Regions from separate parts of the Homo sapiens genome. Here region 2 is linked to region 1. Evidence: promoter capture Hi-C in 16 types of primary human blood cells and fetal thymus (Javierre and others, 2016). All regions are on one chromosome and are shown on one strand. The core of a region is centred on a gene start or on the middle of the fragment in contact, and the rest is flanking DNA. Distances in the headings are between cores, read along the strand shown.

Region 1 (4,822 bases), core at 2,263-4,762:
ATCTATTTCCACAGGTTAAATTTATCATTACAACATTATAGACTCAAATCTCTTTTCAAATTTATGTAAACCTTTTTAATAATCTTCTTACAGTGTTTAGAACTTGAATTTACAATTGTACAAAATTTCCAAAATACAGAAAAGTACAAAATGAAAATGACCTGTAAGCCAGCCACTATTAGCATATCTTCCTTTTAACCATTAAAAAAAGTATTGTGATTAAATACATGAACATTCACTATATAGAGTTCACACAATAAAGAATTAGAGGGTAAAAAGTGAAAGTTTTCCTTCATTCCCCACCCGATTCTCTCCCCTCCTGAGAGGTAACCACTATTAACAGATGGAGCGTAGCCTTTCTTTTCTTTTTTTTTTCTTTTTGAGACAAAGTCTTGCTCTGTCACCCAGGCTGGAGTGCAGTAGCGCGATCTCAGCTCACTGCAAGCTCCACCTCCCGGATTCATGCCATTCTCCTGCCTCAGCCTCCCCAGTAGCTGGGACTACAAGCACCCACCACCACGCCCAGCTAATTTTTTGTATTTTTAGTAGAGACGGGGTTTCACCATGTTAGTCAGGATGGTCTTGATCTCCTGACCTCGTGATCTGCCTGCCCCGGCCTCCGAAAGTGCTGGGATTACAGACGTGAGCCACTGCGCCCGGCCCCAGTGAGTGTACCCTTTCAAAGGTTTTTCTATGCACTTACATACATCTATTTCCAATTTTCTATTACTTGCCTTTCCCCCGCCCCCACTTAATATTTCCTAGAGACACTTCCATGTTAGTACTTATGAGTCTACTTAATTCTTCTAACACTGTATGATATTCTGGAACATGGATGTACGGTATGTTTAACCACTTGTATTTAACGGACATGTAGATTGCTTCCAACAAGTAAACTGCTTCCAACAATGCTAGCAGTGGTAAACATCTTGAATATATACCCTGTATATGTGCAACTTTTTCTGCAGGTTAAATTTTTAGTCGTGGTAATAGTGAATCAAAGGAGATATACATTTAAAAGTTTCGGCTGGGTGCAGTGGCTCAGGCCTGTAATCCCAGCACTTTGGGAGGCCGAGGCAGGGTGGATCACCTGACATCAGGTATTTAAGACCAGCCTGGCCAACATGGTGAAACTCTATCTCTACTAAAAATACAAAAATTAGCCAGGCATGGTGCCGCACGCCTACAGTCCCACATACTAGGGAAGCTGAAGTGGGAGAATCGTTTTGAATCCAGGAGGCAGGGGTTGCAGTGAGCCGAGATTGCACCACTGCACTCCAGCCTGGCCGACAGAGCAAGACTCCATCTCAAAAAAAAAAACAAAACAAACCAAAAAAAGTTAAAATTAAATGTTGGCACATATTAAACTGCCAAATTGTCTTTCAGAATCACTACCAGTTCACATTCCTAACCCTGAATATTAACAATCTTTTCAATTTCTGTCAATTTTGTGCATGGAAAGAGTATCTTAATCATGTTTTAATTTCCCAGTCCCTAGTAATGAGATTGAGTCTATGTTCTGTTTATTGGTATCTGAAGTCTCTCCTCTATGAGCCTTCAGATACCTTTGGCCTATTTTTCCAAAGTGTCATTATTTTCTTTTCAGTCTGAAGGGACTTTTTGAATAGAGAAGATATCAACTAAATTTGTGTTATATGTGTAGAACTTCTCCCAGTCTGTCATTTATCTTTTTACTTTGCTTATGGCATCTTTTCCCATTATTTTTAAATTTTATGTAAGTAATATATCTATACTTTGTAAGGTAGGTAGGTGTGTGGTTGTGTGTGTGGATGTTAGAGTCTTGTTCTGTTACCCAGGCTGGAGTGCGGTGGCACAATCATAGCTCACTGCAGCCTTGATCTCACTGGCTGAATCCATCCTCCTCCCTCAGCCTCCCCAGTAGCTGGGACCACAGACGTGCACCACCACGCCCAGCTAATTTTTTTAATTTGTAGAGGCAGGAGCTCCCTATGTTGCTCAGGCTGGTCTTGAAGTCTGGGCTCAAGTGATCCTTCCACCTTGGCCTCCAAAAATGTTGGAACTACAGGTGTGAGCCACCATGCCTGTCCTGTTATTTCCGAAATTAAGAAGATCTATCCGACTCCCAGAATAATACAACTATTCTTTCATTATTTCTTCTAACACTTTGTTTTACTTTCTTCATTTGGCACTTCAATCCTCAAAAATTACTGTGGAAATAATTTTTGTGTGAGGTATAAAGTAGTATTTACCTTTTTTTGCAAATAGACCCCTAATAATCCTAACAGCACTGCCCTGAAATGACATCTTTAAATTCCCATTTACACTGGGTGTGCTGCATAACTAAATTAAGAATTTTGATTTTTTTTTCAAAAATCCTTGACAATAATGAGAATCTGAAACCCACTCATTATTTCTTCACTTCCCTCCTAGTCTCCTCCCTTCCAGTTTTGCTTTCCCTATAATTCATTTATTAGAAAGCATCTAGAGTAAACTTTAACAAAACCATCTCTACTTATCCTGCAAAAGCTTTCAGTGGTCTTAACACTAGTCAAACGCTTATCCCGGCCTACTGGGTTCTACATGATCTGGACCCGCCTACCTCTTGGACCTCGTCACACATTTCAGTCAAAACAGACCTCTTTTCTGCAGGTGCTACTATCATCATTCACACCGCACAAGGATGCAAAGTAACTCGCCCAAGGTCACACAGCCGGCAAGGGGCAGAGCCCCGATCTAGGGCTCTTTTAGCCACTAAGTGTGCTACATTAAAGGCCCTCTACAGAGAAGCATTCATTTAAACATTTCACGGTTTGACAGTGTCTCTAAACGCTGCCATTCAAGGAGACCCGCAGGAGTATTACGTAAAGTCGTGTCCTACCTTGTCCGGCAGCAACAAAAAGATGACGACCAAGTATCCTTACGCTTCCGCTAGAGGGACACTCAAAAGTTCTCGCACGCACAAGATCACCCCCATCGCGGGAGAGGCGGAGGCCCGCGCGGGTGCTGGGACCCAGACCGGGGGACTCGGGCAGCGGATGCAGGCCTTACCTTCCTCGTCGTCCTGGTCTGCGCTGGACCCGGCGCCCGGCCACTCCTGCGCGTCGCCCTCGGTCCCCGCCGCCTCCTCCTCCTCGGAGCCCGAACCCTGGCTGAAGTCTATCCGCTGGGCCAGACGCGCCAGATTCTGCGACATGGACAGCGGGGGCAGGTACGTCTCGGTGCCATCCAGGCCCACCTCATGGACCTGCTTCTCGCAGGCCGATTCGATGCTGATCCGCACTGCGCGCACCCCGGACATGCTGGCTGCGTCGGCCAGCGGTGGGAGGACCCCCCACGAGCCAAAAAACGAGGTACGAAGAGGAGGCTTCCCTGCGGAGAGCCGGGAACTCAGAAGCCCGCAGCCGCGGTGCCTCAGAAGACCCTCGGGAAACCGAACGCAACGCTCAGACTGGAAACAAAGGAGCTGGCCCAGCAACTTTCCCAGAACGCACCGCAAGCTCCCTCCTCGGTAAGTCTTTCGGAGCAAAACTGGGCAGGCGCGGAAGCTCCAGGGTTCCCTAGAGCGCTTCCGGTGAATCACGGTGCAGGGTGGGGTAAACTTCCGGGCCTATAAGAGGCGTGGCCGGCAGAGGGAGGGAAAGAGCGGTTTGGGAGCCGAGAGTGTGGCGGGTATATTCCTTGCTTTTTAAGCCTGCGTTTGTTTAAAAAGTGGATGAGGAAAGAAAGCTGCAGAGGCTAGAAGAGTTAAGGAAAAGGAAATTAATGGATCCTTGGATCTTAGCAATGAGAGTCCTGTTGAGAGAACTGAGATCTGGTGGCGCGCGCCTGTGGTCCAGCTACGCGGGTGGCTGAGGCGGGAGAATGGCTTGAGCCCTGGAGATGGAGGCTGCAGTGAGCCGAGATCTCACCGCTGCATTCCAGCCTAAGCAACAGAGTGGGATCCTGCCTCAAAACAAAAGTTATTTTAAATTAGCAAGAAATTTTTTAAAGAAACACTATCTGAAGAGTTAGAAATTAAGGGCATGGCTTGGGGGAAACAATCGTGCTTATCACCACTTAAAATTATACTACGTAATTATTTGGTTTCCTGTTAGTTATAACTCTATGACAGCCAATATCTGCAGCAGACATAATAGACTCTGGCATGTAGTAAGTGCTTAATATTTATTTTATGCCCGAGTAACAGAATAAATAATGTTGATCTCGCTTTTTTATTAGTGATGGGGTCCCACTATGTTGCCCAGGCTGAGTGCAGAGGTTATTCACAAGTGCTGTCAGCACGCTACAGCCTGGAGCTCCTGGGCTCCAACGATGCTCCTGCCTTAGCCTCCTGAGGAGCTGGGACTATAGGAGCGTGTCACCATGCCTGGCCTGCAAATAATATTTAAAAGATTAAGAAGAAGTGGTATAACTTCAGTCTTTGGGTCTCCAAGAACGTATTTCATTAGTAGGAATTCCACAGACAAAGATGGATTATTTTATATTACAAACCTCTATATTTCGTTTAAGGAATTATATATACCGTTTATCATGAGTGTTTGCCAGGTTTTGTTCTGACCAAGATATATCTAGGTTTTGAACTACTTTCCTAAGGTATTTAGGAAAATACGGTTGCCCTGGTGTCAGTCCCTGCTGAAGAAGAAAGTAGATGGCCGTGTGTGGAGGGGGTTGAATTTTCATGAGAGAAACCTATTTCTGGCAAGCTGTACAGTCTGTCGCCCAATCATGTTCGAGAACCACTGTACTTGCTTTTCGTGTAAATTTGTTTAAAAATTTTTTTTAACTTTATTTTAAAATCTGATTAATAGCCAGGCGCAGTGGCAGTCTAATAGTGCAGACA
Region 2 (5,066 bases), core at 1,374-3,873, about 10 Mb after region 1:
GACACATATGGTCTCTACCATAATGGAGAAAACAAATATTAAGTGCAGAGACATGGGAAGGCTGGGTTGCTGTATGAGTCCATAACAAAAGTACCAAATCTGCATGTTGTTTGAGTGGGAATGACTTCTTAAAGAGTTACTCTAAAAAGTCACCATTTAAACTGGAATCTGAAAGATATAAAGGAATTGGCCAGATAAAGAGGAGAAAGAGCTCCAAGTTGAGTAGTGATGCTTTACCATATGCAAAGTCCCTGAGTAGGAAGGAGCAAAGCGATGAGTAAATTGTACTTGCTCACTCCAATCCTCTCTCCTGGACCCCTTGCCTTACAACCTCTACTAACTAAAACCCCTAAGGTTCAAATCCTATCTCTTCTTGATAACCATTATCAAAAAGCATTTAACCTTCAACTGAATTATAGGATTTATTATTTTCTTAACATTTACATGACACTAACCTATTAAAGCTCTGTGTTGAAGGCTATTAAAATGCTTGTTCTATTCTCTCAGTTATTAATATATTACAAATTACTGGAGAGCAGAAATCTTTGCAATCCTTGCGTATCCTAGCAGAAATCCCTGCACGTAGTAAGAACTTGAATAGTTGTTGGATTGAACTGGTTTTCTTTACATTCCTCACATCTAACCTTAAACCTAGCTGGCACTCAGATATTTCTGTAAGTAAAACTGGAAAAATGAAAAATGTTTAAAAGTCCAGAGAAGAATAATATTGTGAAGGGTCCGAGATCTTACCCTATTAGCAGGCTATCAAGTTATCCTGTCATGGTTGCATGGATGCTGGTAGAAGATATGAGACTCCTTGCTAGAAACAAAGAACCCAATTACTGATGGTGCAGCGAGCAGCACGAGTATCGGCATATTTGTGTCAGCTCCCCTTGGCCCCAAGTTCATGGGGATGATGCAGCTGGGGCTACGTAGATGCCTGAGCACGTACAGTACATTGCATTACAGAGAGGAACCCTGACCTATGAGAACACAAATCTTTTATAATAGGCAGTAAGCATGAGGCCTTTTGCTCCAGAGAGAGATGCTATATTTCCTAAGGTTGTTCGTTATACAAAACTGCCACAACAAAAGGCAGAGAAGACCTCCATTTGTAAAACATACAGAAACATGAGACACCCATGGAAATTATTTCCTAACTCTGAGTAAGCAGGTATTATTATTGTTTATTGGGTGCTTGTATATGCCAGGTCCAGTGCTAAGTATTTTAGATGCATCATCTTTTCTATTCCTCTCAACAAACATGAGAAAACATTAACAAATTTATGGAAAAATATTTTTATAAATTAAGATGTTTAACAAAGAAACAATAGCAACCAAGGAGAATCTGAAAATACACAGGAGCATTAGGAGGTCTCAGAGAGGAGCTGTATCTATTAGCTGAATACTATCTGGACTCACTTCATCTGCTATTCCTGCTTTTCCTTCCTATGCTTCTCTGGCCTGCATGGTAGATTATGGATGACCCAAGCTCCTGCACTCACTTGATATAGTTCCAGCCAGCCTCAGAGAATGATTAAGAATCCCTGGATCTAATTGCCACTTCCATCAAAGAGAACATAATCAACACTGTATATGTGTGTTACAGAGAGAGCTTTATGTTAATATAAATAATAGTAACATGAATTAATATATAAAGAGATCCACTTTTTTCATAATAATTCCTTAAGTTAAGTAAAATATTGTGATAACACTTACTGGTCTGTATCTTCCACTAGCCTGTTAGCTCCTCCCAAGCAGGGATCCTATCATTTAACAGAATTATAATCATGTATATAATTATAATTATAATCCTGTATATAAGAATTATACAGAATTATAATTATGTATATACATGTATTAAGGATTTTCCTGTCACTAAGATTATTTTTAAAAATACTAAATTCTTGCATAATATTCCAAATTGGGACACTTCTGCAAGTTATTTAATCACTTTTGAATACTTAGACTATTTTCAATTTTTCACTACTATAAATAACATTGCAATAGTCATCCTTTTCAAAAATCTTAGCTACAGATGTGATTATTTACTATGGATAGCTTCTTAGAAGTGAAACTCTAGGCCAGGTGCGGTGGCTCACAGTTGCCTGTAATCCCAGCACTCTGAGAGACCGAGATGGGTGGATCACCTGAGGTCAGGAGTTCAAGACCAGCCTGACCAGCATGGCGAAACCCCACCTCTACTAAAAATACAAAAATTAGCTGGGTGTGGCAGCGCATGCCTGTAATCCCAGCTACTTGGGAGGCTGAGGCAGGAGAATTGCTTGAACCCGGGAGGCTGAGGTTGCAGTGAGCCAAGATCACACCGTTGCACTCCAGCCTGGGTGATAGAGCAAGACTCTGTCTCAAAAAAAAAAAAAAAAAAGAAGAAGTGAAACTCTGGCTATTTACTTTTTGGAGTTTCATAAATATATTACTAAATTGCTAAAGGCCAAAACTGGAAACACATTCCCCTTGAGAACTGGAACAAGAAAAGGATGCCCATTCTCACCACCCTTATTCAACATAGTACTGGAAGTCCCAGCCAGGGCAATCAGGCAAGAGAAATAAATAAAGATATTCAAATAGGAAGAGAGGAAGGTAAACTATCTCTCTTTGCCAACGATATGATTCTACACCTAGAAAACCCTAAAGACTCTCCCAAAGGCCCCTGGAACTGATAAACAAATTCAGTAAAGTTTCAGGATACACAATCAATGCACAAAAAATCAGTAGCATTTTTATACACCAATAATGTTCTAGCTGAGAATCAAATCAAGAACACAATCCCATTTACAATAGGCACAAAGAAAATGGAATACTCAGGATCATCTCACCAGGGAGGTGAAAGATCTCTGCAAGGAGAACTACAAAACACTACTGAAAGAAAGCAGAGACAACACAAATAAATGGAGAAATATTCCATGCTCATGGGTTGGAAGAATCAATACAGTTAAAATGGCCATACTATCCAAAACAAATTACAGATTTAACGCTATCCTTATCAAAATACCAACATCATTTTTCACAGAACTAGAAAAACCTCTTCTAAAATTAATTTGGAACCAAAAAAGAGCCTGAATAGTCAAAGCAATCTTAAGCAAAAAGAACAAAGCAAGACTTCAAACAATACTATAAGGCTAAACTAATCAAAACAGCATGGTAGTGTTACAAAAACAGACACATAGACCAGTAGAACAGAATAGAGAACCCAGAAATAAAGCCACACACCTAAAACCATCTGGTCTTCAACAAAATCAACAAAAATAAGCAACACGGATAGCATTCCCTATTCAGTAAATGGTGGTGGGATAACTGGCTAGCCATATGCAGAAGAATGAAACTGGACCCCCCTACCTCTCACCATATACAAAAATTACCACAAGCTGGATTAAAGATTTAAAAGTAAGCCCTCAAACTATAAAAACTCTAGAAAAAAAACTAGGAAATACCCTTCTTGACACAGGCTTTGGAAAAGAATTTATAGCTAAGTCCCCAACAGCAATTACAACAAAAATAAAAACTGACAAGTGGGACCTAATTAAAGAGCTTCTGCACAGCAAAAGAAATTACCAACAGAGTAAACAGATAGCCTAAGAATGGGAAGGAGAAAATATTTGCAAACTATGCATCTGACAAAGGTCTAACATCCAGAATCTATAAGGAATTTAAACAAACCAAGAAGTATAAAACAATCCAATTAAAAAATGAGCAAAGGACATGAACACACACTTCTCAAAAGAAGACATACAAATAGCCAACAAACATGAAAAAATCCTCAACACCACTGATCATTAGAGAAATGCAAATCAAAACTACAATGAGATGCCATCTCACACCCATCAGAATGGCAATTATTAAGAAAAAAAATTCACATATTGGTTAGGCTGTGAAGAAAAGGGAATGCTTATACTCTGTTGATGGGAATGCAAACTAGTTCAGCCACTATGGAAAGCAGTTTGGAGATTTCTCAAAGAACTTAAAATACAACTACCATTCAACCCAGCAATCCCACTACTGGGTATATACCCAAAGGAAAATAATTCATGCCATCAAAAAGACACAGAGCTGGGCACCGCAGCTCATGCCTGTAATCCCAGCACTTGGGAGGCCTAGGCGGGTGGATAGTTTGAGCCCAGGAGTTCTGGACCAGCCTGGGCAACATGGCAAGACCCCATCTCTACAAAACATGCAAAAATTAGCCAGTTGTGGTAGTGCACACCTGTAGTCACAGCTACTTGGAAGCCTGAGGCAGGAGGATCAGTTAAGCCCAGGAAGTTGAGGCTGCAGTGAGCCATGCACGACTGCACTCCAGCCTGAGTGACGCAGCAAAACCCTGCCTCAAGCCAAAAAAAAAAAAAAAAAAAAAAAGACACATGCAACCGTATGTTCATTGTAGTGCCATTCACGATAGCAAGGACATGAAATCAACCTAAGTGCCCATCAACAGTGGACTGGATAAAGAAAATGTGGTACATATACACCATGGAATATAATGCAGCCATAAAAATAAGGAAATTATACTCTTTGTAGCAACATGGATGGAACTGGAGCCATTATCCTATGCAACCTAATGCCAAGAACAGAAAACCAAATACACATGTTCTCACTTATAAGTAGGAGCTAAACATTGAATATATGATGGTAAACGTGGAAACAACAGGCATTGAGGATCATTAGATGAGGAAAGGGGGAGACGGACAGAGGGGCATGGGTTGAAAAAGCACCTGTTGAGTACTATGCTTACATCCTGTTGGGATCATTGGGACCCCTAACCTCGATATACCCTAAGGTTTTGCGTTTTGTATTTTGAAACTGGTAAGATCAAACTTTTTTCCCAATTTTTTTTTTTTTTTTTTAGATCGAGTCTCACTCTGTCGCCCAGGCTGGAGTGCAATGGTGTGATCTCGACTCACTGCAACCTCCGCCTCCAGGATTCAAGCGATTCTCCTACCTCAGCCTCCTGAGTAGCTGGGATTACAGGCATGTGCCACCACGCCCGGCTAATTTTGTATTTTTAATATAGACAGGGTTTCTCCACGTTGGTCAGGTTGGTCTCGAACTCC

What was found. The method cuts DNA at HindIII sites, captures the fragments that hold promoters and counts their contacts. A CHiCAGO score of 5 or more calls a contact.
Region 2: a contact is called between a fragment that was not itself captured here and the fragment with the promoter of MED17 in region 1, in 2 of 17 cell types (non-activated CD4 T cells and total CD4 T cells). The highest score is 6.1, in non-activated CD4 T cells.

What each region holds. Positions count from the first base shown.
Region 1 is chr11:93,782,972-93,787,793 of GRCh38, reverse strand. It overlaps MED17 (mediator complex subunit 17), which reads right to left and starts at 3,512. Exons shown (of 12, transcript NM_004268.5): 1 at 3,031-3,512. The coding sequence starts at 3,280. RefSeq lists enhancers at 728-1,227, 3,236-3,455, 3,397-3,691 and silencers at 2,780-2,974, 2,976-3,105. The HindIII fragment of the contact is 2,360 bases long and covers 2,511-4,822 here.
Region 2 is chr11:83,287,040-83,292,105 of GRCh38, reverse strand. The region is part of intron 1 of CCDC90B-AS1 (CCDC90B antisense RNA 1); the gene reads right to left. Among named protein-coding and RNA genes, the nearest start is that of CCDC90B, 3.2 kb to the right of the region's middle. The HindIII fragment of the contact is 5,322 bases long and covers 1-5,066 here.